3 separate regions of the Homo sapiens genome follow, and all the other regions are linked to region 2. Evidence: promoter capture Hi-C in 16 types of primary human blood cells and fetal thymus (Javierre and others, 2016). All regions are on one chromosome and are shown on one strand. Each heading gives the region's core, a stretch centred on a gene start or on the middle of the fragment in contact. The rest is flanking DNA. Distances are from core to core; before and after follow the strand shown. Region 1 has its middle 350 kb from the start of NR5A2. Region 2 holds the start of ZNF281 (zinc finger protein 281). Region 3 has its middle 360 kb from the start of NR5A2.

What was found. The method cuts DNA at HindIII sites, captures the fragments that hold promoters and counts their contacts. A CHiCAGO score of 5 or more calls a contact.
Region 1: a contact is called between a fragment that was not itself captured here and the fragment with the promoter of ZNF281 in region 2, in 1 of 17 cell types (M0 macrophages). The highest score is 5.2, in M0 macrophages.
Region 3: a contact is called between a fragment that was not itself captured here and the fragment with the promoter of ZNF281 in region 2, in 1 of 17 cell types (total B cells). The highest score is 5.1, in total B cells.

Annotation. Positions count from the first base shown.
Region 1 is chr1:199,678,291-199,682,296 of GRCh38, forward strand. No RefSeq gene overlaps it. Among named protein-coding and RNA genes, the nearest start is that of NR5A2, 350 kb to the right of the region's middle. The HindIII fragment of the contact is 827 bases long and covers 877-1,703 here.
Region 2 is chr1:200,407,986-200,411,820 of GRCh38, forward strand. It overlaps ZNF281 (zinc finger protein 281), which reads right to left and starts at 2,051. Exons shown (of 2, transcript NM_001281293.2): 1 at 1,961-2,051; 2 at 1-1,738. The coding sequence starts at 1,720. RefSeq lists enhancers at 1,300-1,877, 1,878-2,455, 2,456-3,033, 2,580-2,629, 3,305-3,835 and a silencer at 2,060-2,239. The HindIII fragment of the contact is 20,575 bases long and covers 1-3,835 here.
Region 3 is chr1:199,662,075-199,665,737 of GRCh38, forward strand. No RefSeq gene overlaps it. Among named protein-coding and RNA genes, the nearest start is that of NR5A2, 360 kb to the right of the region's middle. The HindIII fragment of the contact is 1,662 bases long and covers 637-2,298 here.

The DNA.
Region 1 (4,006 bases), core at 40-2,539, 730 kb before region 2:
CCTCCTGCTTCAGCCATGTAAGATGTGCCTGCTTCCCCTTCTGCCATGATTATAAGTTTCCTGAGGCCCCCACAGCCATGCTTCCTGTACAGCCTGCAGAACTGTGAGCCAATTAAACCTCTTTTCTTTAAAAATTACCCAGTCTCAGGTATTTCTTTATAGCAGTGTGACAATGGACTAATAAAATATACAATTCAAATTTTCTTAAATTTTACTTAAAATGACATAGCTCATTTGAAAATTGAGTGTAATAAGTTAAAGATGAATATTTTAATCCCTAGGGACACCACTAAAAACAGTTAAATATAAAGCCAATAAAGGATATAAAATGGAATATAGACATATGCACGCAAAAGAGAAAGGAAGAAAGTAAAAAGAGTAACATCAGCAACAACATCAAAGTGAGAAAAATTTAAAAAAAGCAGACAATAGATTTTATTTAACCATATTGATATTTAAATTACACATAAGTGGTCTTGAACATTCCAATTAAAAGGCAGGCATTAAGAAACTGGATAAAATAACAAAATCCAACTCTATTGTTTTTAAGAATGAACTTCATTTTTTAATTTTTTTAATGATATTGGAAGTACTTTATTTTATCATGTGACATCATATAACAGCAGTCTTATTTACAGCTGCCTAACCACACAATGTAGATTTGAATTTGAATAGGGAAGCTGGCTCAGAAACAGCAATACTACTGACTCAAGAACTGATGTTTACATGATGACGTTTTGACTGATTTACAGGAGTTTTAAAACACAAGTTTATACTGATTAGAATTATTTCATGGTTTCATAAAAGCACTACTGTATTAAACCAAAAATAAACTAGGTATAGTTTATTCACATAATGAAGCTGCAATTGAAAACAAGCTTACAAATTTCCCATCTCAGGTCTTTTTTCTGTTCTCAGCATTACTACAAATGCCTCCTTCCATCACCATGCTGAACTCCTCAGCATCTTCTATATCACTTCCAGAGGAATGTCTGGAAAGTAGTGATGCTTATCTTCCCTCAGAAGCAAACTGATAATGCCAATATCCCCACAACTCATACTTTTTGCCTTTTTGATATGTGCTTCTTTTTGGCATAACAGAAGAAACACACCACTAGGATTCTGAAAACCTAAACTCTGGGCCTGCTGGTTATAAACTGCAGAATCTTAGAGCGTGTATCCTCCCCAAGTGCCTCTTTTCTCAACTGCAAAAAAAAAAAAAAAAAAAAAAATTGTATTTGTTTGGTCCTTTGTACTCCTTTTATTACTTATCTTCATAATAATCCTTAGACTGAAGAAAGGCAGCATTATCCCCAGTTTATAGAAGAAATTCAATCTCAAAGCAATTATACAATCTACCCAAGATCCCACAGGTAGTAATATATCAAATGGCAGAGCTAAACTCACACAATCTCACACAAGATCCTAGTACTGGAATGTGTTGTGCTCCTAAGTTTGCTAAATGGATGAAGCAGGAATTTCCCAGGTACCTTCCAATGATCACATTCTGTGCTTCTACTTGCTATTTTCTCTTCTCTCAACTAGCGTTAAAATCAGAAAATATGTATATTTAATCACTAAATTTCATTTGTCATGGATCTTTGATTTAACTGTTGTTTTAAGGTTTTTTTGTATTTCTATATTGAATTCAGAAAAATAATTTTTTTTTTCAAATAGTTCTTGCTGCTGCCTGCCTCTCCGAAAGCTTTTGGACTTACCTATTTGTCAAGGCAAAAAATGCTAACATTTTATAAACATCACTAATCACTTTTTATAACTTTAAAGACAATTATTCCATACTTAAAACCAATTCAAAACAAAAGAAATTCTGGTTAATTCTTATTCTCTGGAGTACTAATAAAAATGTATTTTCTACTGATTTTGTATCCAAGGACTAAATTTTAAATGCAAAATTATTAAAAGTACAAAATATACAAAAGGTTAAAGTACAAAGTACAAAATGATTAAAAGAGAAAAGGATGAAATCATACCACATACCTATTAATCATAAGAAAGCTGGAGTACCTATATTAATATCAGAGTATACTTCAAGATAAGTATTTCTGGCCAGGCGCGGTGGCTCATGCCTGTAATCCCAGCACTTTGGGAAGCTGAGGCAGGTGGATCACTTGAGGTCAGGAGTTCAAGACTATCCTGGCCAACATGGTGAAACCCTGTCTTTACTAAAAATACAAAAATTAGCCAAGAATAGTGGTGTGTGCCTGTAGTCCCAGCTCCTCGGGAGGCTGAGGCCAGAGAATTGCTTGAACCCGGAGACAGAGGTTTCAGTGAGCCGAGATTGTACCACTGCACTCCTGCCTGGGTGACAGAGCAAGACTCCATCTCAAAAAAAAAAAAAAAAAAAAAAAAAGTCAAGTATTGCCATGAATTGAAAAGAACATTTCATAATAATCAGGAGTCAATTAATCAAGAAACACTAACAATCCTAAATGTAAATAAACCTAATAATATCATGGATCTAATAAAACTTCAAAATGCACAAAGCAAAAACTAAAGAAATAAAGGAAGAAATAGACAAATCCACAATTACATTTGGAGATGCTACCTCTTATCTTTCTAGAATTGATAGAAAAACTGTCCAAAAAATCAATAATTATATTAAAGATATCAGTTGAACAATTGAACCTAGTTAACAAATGTCAGTAGTACACTACACCCAACAATGGCACAATGCATATTCTGTTCAGTAGTACATGGAGTATTCACCTACAGAAATTATATGCTGGGCCACAAGAAGTTTCAGGAATTTGGAAATATTGTAATCATACAGTGTATGTTTTATGACTAAAAAGATCAAATGAGCAATCAATAGCAAAAAGATATCTAGGAGTTTCTAAGCCTTTAGGATAATGCCATTCACTTGATTCCAAGTCTCCATACACACTATCCCCGGAAACATCAAATCACCAAATAGTGCAAATAAAACCACACAAGACTAAGAGATTAAAAAAATACCATGAATTTCAATAACCTATAAGTACACTAAAAAAAAAAATCCAACAGAGCTCTCATTACTAACTGCAAACTTTTGAGTGGACAGAGTGGGAAAAAGAACTGAAATGAAACCAAAAAATACTGTCCCATAAAGAGAAAAAGAGAAAGTCTAACACTAAATGGTAAAAACTGAACAAAGGTTTGGGACTTGGTCATTCACAACACTGTCTTTGGAAAAGGGGTTATAAAGTGATCACGATTAGAAGTGACAGTCTCAAAGAATCATTGCTTCTTGGGAAAATCAGATTAATAGTGAAAAGGTGGTACCTCTTGGAGATAGGGCAGTGCAAGGAAGTAGAAAATCTTCCCTTCCCAGCACCAGTATCATACATTAAATGCACTGCATTTCACTAAACTGACAGAAAAAGGGCTCCTGTCCTAGGACTCTGTCCACAGTGCACAGAAATAGGAAAAAAAAAATTTCATGCATAACTACTAAACATAGGAAACAGAAAATATGACCCAAAAGAATCAGCTGATGACAATTCTTCCCTAAATACAATAGTTACATAGAAGAAATGGTAATATAACAATTTGTACTAAATTATATATCCTTAAGTATTTTGGGATATAAAAAATAATTTGGAATCATAAATTCTAAAATTAAAAACAAAAAGGGACAAAGGAGAGTAGAACATAAAATTGAATAGACCACATTTAAGATAAAAATAGAATAAAACAAAATAATATTAGAAATAAAGATGAAATTATAAAGGGATAACAGATTCAAATTTAAATAGTAATGAGTATTGAATAAAAAAAGGGAAGACATCCAAGAAAACAAAACTGATATTTTTTTCTAAACAGAGAAAAAAAAATTCAGAAAGTGGTTGCAGTGTAATTCAGGTAAAGAAGAGCCAACTTAAATGTTACTGAAGAAGGAAGGAAGGAAGGAAGGAAGGAAGGAAGGAAGGAAGGAAGGAAGGAAGGAAGGAAATATTAAAAACCATAAACAAAAAAAACTTTCCAGAAATAAAAGAAAAAGTGAATC
Region 2 (3,835 bases), core at 801-3,300:
CACTGACACCTGCAGACTGAATGACAGACTGTTGGGAGACCATGTGTCCTACGTTTATAGAAAAGGCACTGTTGCTGCTGGCAGTTGGTAAATATCTTCTTTTCTTTGAAAACTGCATGGCATCATCATAATTACTACTTATCTGACCTTGTTTGCCACTTGTACTTTGGAGAAGACCAATGGTCTCCACACTATTATTTGATACTATGCCAAGTGAGCCACTTGGTTTTCCAGACAAGGATTTCTGTCCTACTATGTCTGGTAATGGTGACACAAAGTTAAGGTAGTTTTTATCTGTATTCTTTCTGCTTCCTTTCTTAAAGATCAATTTTGGCACCCTCTTCTGCAGTTCATCTATTCCAGTGCCAATTATGCCTCCACTGGAAGACACGGTAGGCATTTCTACTGAGTAACTCTGCATGTTTATATTATTTGAAATTTGCGATTCATTTGTTTTACCGGTCTTCTGTTCCTTATTTTCAATAGCTATGCTTTTTGACTTTGTTTTTCTCCTTGAAGAACTTGTATTTCCCTGAGACAACACAGCCAGATTACCCATATTGGTATGGTTTGATGACCCAGGTTCTGCACTAGTGGCTCCTTTAACTATGACTTCACCACATGTGCGCCTGTGCTTCAACAATCTATCAGTCCTTGAAAAATACTGTTGGCAAGTGTCACACTTATATGGCTTTTCTCCACTATGTGTCCTCTTGTGTCTCTCCATATGGTACTTCTGAATAAACTTCATGCTGCACTGATCACATCCAAATGGCTTCTCTCTACTATGAATTTTCTCATGTCTCTGTAGTAGGTATTTCTGAATGAAACCCATACTACACTGGCTGCACTGGAAAGGTCTTTCTCCTGTATGAATGAGGACATGTCTCCGCAGGTGATAGGAGCTTCGGAAAGCAGCACTACAGTGATCACAGATATGAGGTTTCTGACTTGGGGAGAGGATGGCACCTTCTCCATCTCCAACCAAAGAAGGTTTGGAAGATGCACTTGGCTTCCTCTTGGCTTTGATTCCCTGAGATTCTGGCTTTGGCCTTTTTGCCTTTTTGACATTAGTGTCCTGCTTTGGCTCCTCAGTGCCATGGTGGTCATCAGTCCTGCTACTGCTGCTGAGTAATACGTCACGGTGGTGCTGGGCTGGTTGCTGCTGGACATGCTGGTGGAGAATACTGAGGTCCTGGATGACGCCGTGACTCCCCCCTTCACCGCCTCCTAGGCCTGGAGACCTCTCTTCAGCTCCAGCGAACAGCCCCCCATAGTGGTGGTGGTGATGGTGGTGGTGGGACTGCTGCTCCTCAGGATCCGCGGGTTTCTCCTGTTTGATGCTAACCAAAGACTGCAAGAACCCCCAGGAGGTCCTCTGCGAGGGGAAGGCCGCGGCTGACGCCGCCGGCTCCTTCTTGAAAGTCATGTCCGGGGCTGGCGGAGGGGGGGGCTCAGCGGCCGGGGCTGCGGAGGTAGAGGAGGATAACACGCATTGCGGGGGAGGGGCGGCCGACCCCGCCGGCCGGGTGAAGCTGGTGACCGGGGGAAGACGGTGGTTGAACATAACCATACCCTGGGGAAAGGTGGGTTCCATCTCTGCCCTCCTGCCGCTGCTGCCGCCGCCGCCGCCGCCGCCACTACCACCGCCGCCGGAGCCGCTACCACCGCTACTGCCGGTACCTCCGCCGCCACTCAGGAACCCACTGCCGATTTTCATACCCCGGAGGAGGCCTGGCTGAAGAAAGGAGGAGGAAGAGGGAAGAGGGAGGAAAGGAGGTGGAACCGGGCCCCGGGCCGGGACCACCGCAGCGCTAAGGACCCCGCCGCGCCGCCGCCCAGACCGCAACGCGCCCAGCACTAATTCCCAGCCCAGTCGCCTCCGGCACCGGCACGCATGGTCCTGCGACTCTTCCCCAGGCCTCGCCCTCTCCCTCCTGGACCCACCGGCAATACTTACGGGTCCCGCCGCCGCCGCAGCCGCCGTCGCCTCCAGTTAATAAAAATAACGCCGTCCTCTCCACAATGGAATTAAAAGCCTCCCGTGTACTGCGCAGCCGCGGCGCAGTGTCTGCTGGGAACTCCTCGACCCGGCCAGAGGGGAGGGCTAAGGAGCCAGGGCGCCTGCGCCGCAGCTTCCGCCCGGCCTGCCTGTCAATCACTGGGGCCGTTGGGCGGAGGCGGGGGAGCAAGGGCAGGGGAGGCGGGGATTTGGAGCCCTGCTAAAAAGGGGCTTTCGAGGCGAACAGGCGTGATTGGTGGGCTGCACTGAAGGAGATGAAAGTGGTTGAGGGTTTCTGGGGGAAAGACGCTCAGGAGGTGGAACCCAAGGGGCGGGAAGTTACGGGGGACTGTACTACAGCGTGGCGTGGGAGATGCAGAGAAAGGGGCTGGAAGAGAAGGTGAGGGAAACTGAGGATTCAATGTTAGGGCTTTCTTCACTCTAGGTTTTGCAATCCAGGTCTTGAAATAAAATTCAAACCTAGAAGTGGATCATTGAGGGCACTTTTGATTCTATCAAGAAGCATTCAACTCCAAATGCTCAACATTTATTAAAACAGGTGCTTATGTTATCCCTTTGAATTTGGAAGCACTAATAATGGGCGCATATCCTTTGCATTTATGGGAGGAGCCTGCTTTGAAACCGCAATTAGTGGTACCGTTGCAACAAAAAAAAAAAAAAGAAAAAGAAAAAAACTTGTCTTACTGCCAACCTTCCTGAAGGCTACTGGAAGAGGAAACCGAGCGTAATCCAGGTGCAGCAGTCCTGTAAAACACGCCCACACACATACTTCATTATCATTACATCTTATTTAAATGCCCCCGTACCTTAGCCTGGCTAATCAGTCTGTTTGCCACGTTATGAATGCCTGGCCCTTTATATTGTTTATGAAAAATTAACCACCAGGCCATTCTAAGAGCTCTGCTAGGATCAACTCTTTCCTCGCCAGTACAGAATACCGAGAAACTCATTGCAAATTTAGAAATTTTTCTTGTAAGGGAAAATTATGAAGTAAAATCTTAAAATCAAAGTTATATCAACAAAATCAAACAACAAATATTTATTCAGTGTCTAATGTACACAAGGCACTCGATTTCATGTTAAGCATGCAGAAATCTAAACCAGACACTTTCCTAGCAAAGGATATTTATAAATGAGAAATTTTAAATAAAAGAACTAGAACTATGACAACAGCTTATTTACATAGTATGTTTTCTTAATGAAGTTACATGTACATCACAATGTTTCTAGCTAAATAACTTCTCATAATTAAATAATAAATTCTCTGGGAAATTTCACAATCGAAACCATAGGGATTATTTACTAATACTTATGGACCTCTCTCAGCCTGCCCTAAAAATTTTACAGACAATATTTAATGAGAATTTTGAGATAAGAAGAAATTGCTTTTTTTCTAATCCCATGAAACAACATGTAAGTATTCCACCACTTAAACTGACACTTTAATACTGTCAAGTATAGTTGTGATATTGTGAAATATATATTTGGACTTTGAACCGTTTTGTGGCATACAACTGCTAAAAATCCTTGGAATCTGCAAAGTAATAAATGTCTTTTTGTATGCTAATGAAGCGACTGATGATGGCTGGCAACCCCTAGGTAGCTTCAGGATGGGGGCTGGTCACCGGAAAGACCAAGGCAGGATTAGAGTTTGGGACTTTCAGTCCCACCCCCCGACCTCCGGGGAGGAGAGAGGGATTGAAGGTTAAGTTGATCTTCAATGGCCAATGATTTAATCAATCATGCCTGTGTAATGAAGCCTTCATAAAAACCTAAAAAAGGACGGGGTTTGGAGAGCTTCCTGTAAGCGAA
Region 3 (3,663 bases), core at 218-2,717, 750 kb before region 2:
CGCAACCCAGCTAAACTTTTCTTTGTAATTTTCTATCTACCACACCTTCCTCAGACTGCATCTTTCCAAAATAATCTTTATAGAACATCCATAGGGGAAAAAAAAACTCTTCCCTTCCTATACACGTTTGTAGCTACACTTTAAGACATTTCAGCTCTTTTCTCATTTTCTTGGAATGAATCAACAAATATGTATATCATATGTGCTATATTATATTTCATAGTTTTCTACAAGTGCAGAGGTACCAGTTTTGTTTGGATTTTATACTCCAATGCCCTTCCAGGTGATAATATTTTACTGAATTTTTTAAAGCAATAACAACGTATGGGTCAAAGACAATGAATATTTAATATAGAGGCACAGGAGGAGATGAAGCATAAATTATGTATTTTATCCTAAAGGGGAATTTTGAAATAATTTTCTAACATGAATGCTCCACCTACTAGTATTCAAGAGCCTATTCTTGTGATCTTCACGAAAGGACATTTGCAGGATGCACACCGGGAATCTTATTTCTATGTTGTCTCATTAAATCTCATTTGATCTACACTTTCACCCTGTGGAAGATATGTTATATCATTTCCATTTTTAAAAGTTTGAAGAGATTTGCTGTTCACATCTCCTGATCCGAAGTTAAGCTTCTCCTGGGTAAAGCAGAGATGGAGTTGTAGACAAAAATTGTGTGTGTGTGTATGTTTCTGTGAGTTTTCTTAATGTTTCTTAACTGATTTTAGTGAGCCTCTTTAGCAAACCTGGACATCAAACATGTATTTCTTTATAAACCCTTTAAGTGAAGTATAAAAATCCATCCAGAAAAGTTATTAATCCTAAGTGAACAGCTTAATGAAAAGCATTTAACATGTTCATGTGACATGTGCAGATCAAGAAACAGAACATCAACAGCATCCCAGAAAATCCCTCTCTAGTCCCCCACAATCTCTACCCCATCTATCCTCTCCACCAAACAAATATCTTTCATATCAACTTCTGTTCTGTTTTGACATTATTTAAAGCTATGCATCAACACCATATCCTTCTGCCCAGTGCTATCATCTCAACTAAAATGTCTTTATAGCTTTATGCCTTTTGTGACACAGCATATTAAAATTATTAATAGTAACTTGTCCTCCAGTAAGAAAATTCTGGTTACATTACTTACTAGTTTTGTCACTATGAACAAGTTACTTAACCCCTCTAAGGCTCAGTGGTTTCCTCAGTCATAAAATTTAGACAATACTGGTATCTATCTTTGTGAGATTATCATGGGGAAAAATGATAAAATATACGTAAACTTGCTAACACTCTGCTCGTTATCTAGTAAGAAAACAATACATAATATTTATCATTATAATTTCAGTATTTACTAGTGTGGCATGATTATAGGCAGTCAATAAATATTTGAGTCCCTATCCTGGGCTCTGGGTAACTCAGCTTGTATAAACTACATAAATCTCTACCTATACATAACCCAATTCCCTCTCTAATTTTAAATACAATCAAGATAATCCTAAATCTAAAACAACTGTTAGTAACTCTTCATTATTTCTAAAATCAAATTCACAATATATGCATATTTGTGTGTATAACTCTCCTAAAATGAAATACTTTCCACCTGGTTTCTCCTCAAAATCTATCTGTTAAGACCCATTCCAAATACTGCCTCCCATAGTACATCTTTACTTAATCTGATTCCAGGTAATCTCTGAAGGGCCAGGTTCTGTTACTTTCCTGAAGCCCTTCCATTGTCTCTCTTGGACAAGAGAAATACATGAGTGACCACACTGCACTTTCTATAGGACAGTCTCCCTGAGCACAGGAACTGTTGTCTAGATCACTTACAGCCAGCCCAGCATTATATTTTACATATAATAACAATAATATACTAAAAATCATGCTATCAGACAAGTATGTAGAAATTTATACTTTAATTCTTTTATCAACCTTCAAAACATGAGAGCTGCATAATATAATTATTCTCAGTTTGCAATTGTTTAATTTGACAAACACAGATATACCACTTACTACGCCCCAGCAGGACTGGCATGCTTTGCATAGTATAACTCACTTAATCCTACTGGGTGATATAGGCATTATCATTGTCCTCATTTTACAGATAAGGAGAATAAGACAAAATAGTTGAACAAGTAGCCCAAAGTCACCCAGATAGTAAAACAAATAAGTGAGGCTCATCCTCAGGCAGGCCACCTAACTACCATGCCACCATGTACTGCAGCCTGCATCATGACGGGCCACCAATAAGTAGGTGAAGAAATTGATTGAAGATAGACTTACAATTAAAGCTTTGGTCTATAATTAAATCAGTGTGTAAAAAATGGATTTTCTAACTATGGGGGTGGGGGAGATTGATGTTCCTCTTATGCCTCAATCTCTTCATCACCTGCTTCCTTTTCAGCTAAGCACAGTGTACTAGAGAGCTTAGCTCATCCATAGGGCTTGTTGCAGGCACAACAAGGAATCACTGTGGGTTTTCATGTCCTAGAAGTAGATGTAGCTAAAAAGCATTAATATGTTTTTGCAAAAAAAGATTAACAAATTCTTGTTTTCAAAAATCAAAGAACTTAAATTATAGTAGGATAATCTACTTTCATAATCAGTATTAACTTTTTAGATCAGTATTAACTTGTTCAATGACCAGGCATTTCTTATGTGGATTTGCTTTTCTTATCTTCAATGCATGTTTATTAAATATCTGCTCTGTGCATTGCACTATCCTAAGTTTCAGAGATACTAAAATATTAAGACATTATTTCAAATGTTTTATCATTTAGTTTTCTCTTTTAAGAAGTATCTTTTTTCCTTCTTTAACTGGTGGTCTTAATTGAGATAACATCTACAGAGCATTTTCTATTTCTTGGAAAGCAGGTGACACCTTATAAAGTTTTATGCAAGCATTATGGTTAACATATGGCAAATTATTCTAGGCAAATGCTGTTTATAGATCTTTCAAACGTTTTTCACTTAGTTTAAATTTGTATTGATCTAATTGCAATTCTTACACTTCTTAAGGAAAAAACTAATTTTTTTTCTCTCAGGTAAAATGAGTAAAACACCCAGAGAATACTTAGCAGTCTGGGAAGAATATTTTAAAGATTCTATCCCTATTTGCCTCTTCCCTCTAACTAGCATGAACACATATTCCTTACATGGTACATTTGTTCCATTCCATGGGTTAGAATGTTCTATTCGAATCTGCAGGTGACCTCTCTGGGCCTTATTCTTGTATCTGGAAACATAGGCAGTTATGGCTGGCCTCATGTCCCCTTAAAGGCCAAAGTTGAACACTACATTATCTGGGCAGAAAACACCTTATTCTTATTCCTCAACAGTTCTAACAACTCACAGCCCTTCTCAGTCCCTTTATGAACACAGATGTCGTTTTAATGGGGGGGAGAGCTGAAGTGACAAGAAGGTGACCTGTGGGTGAACCCAGGAGCAGGTGAGGCCTGTCAGTTTTTAATTTGAAACTGGTGTCAGGCCTGAGGAATGGCTGGTATAATCACATTTGTAACTGATCTCCTATAAACTCTGCAAACATTCAAGGGATGGCTGTTGTGAGCAATATGAAATTAACAATTCATGTGCAGGTCTCTGGGCACCTAACTAAATCAAATGTATCTTTGAAAACTGTATAAATACTGCATG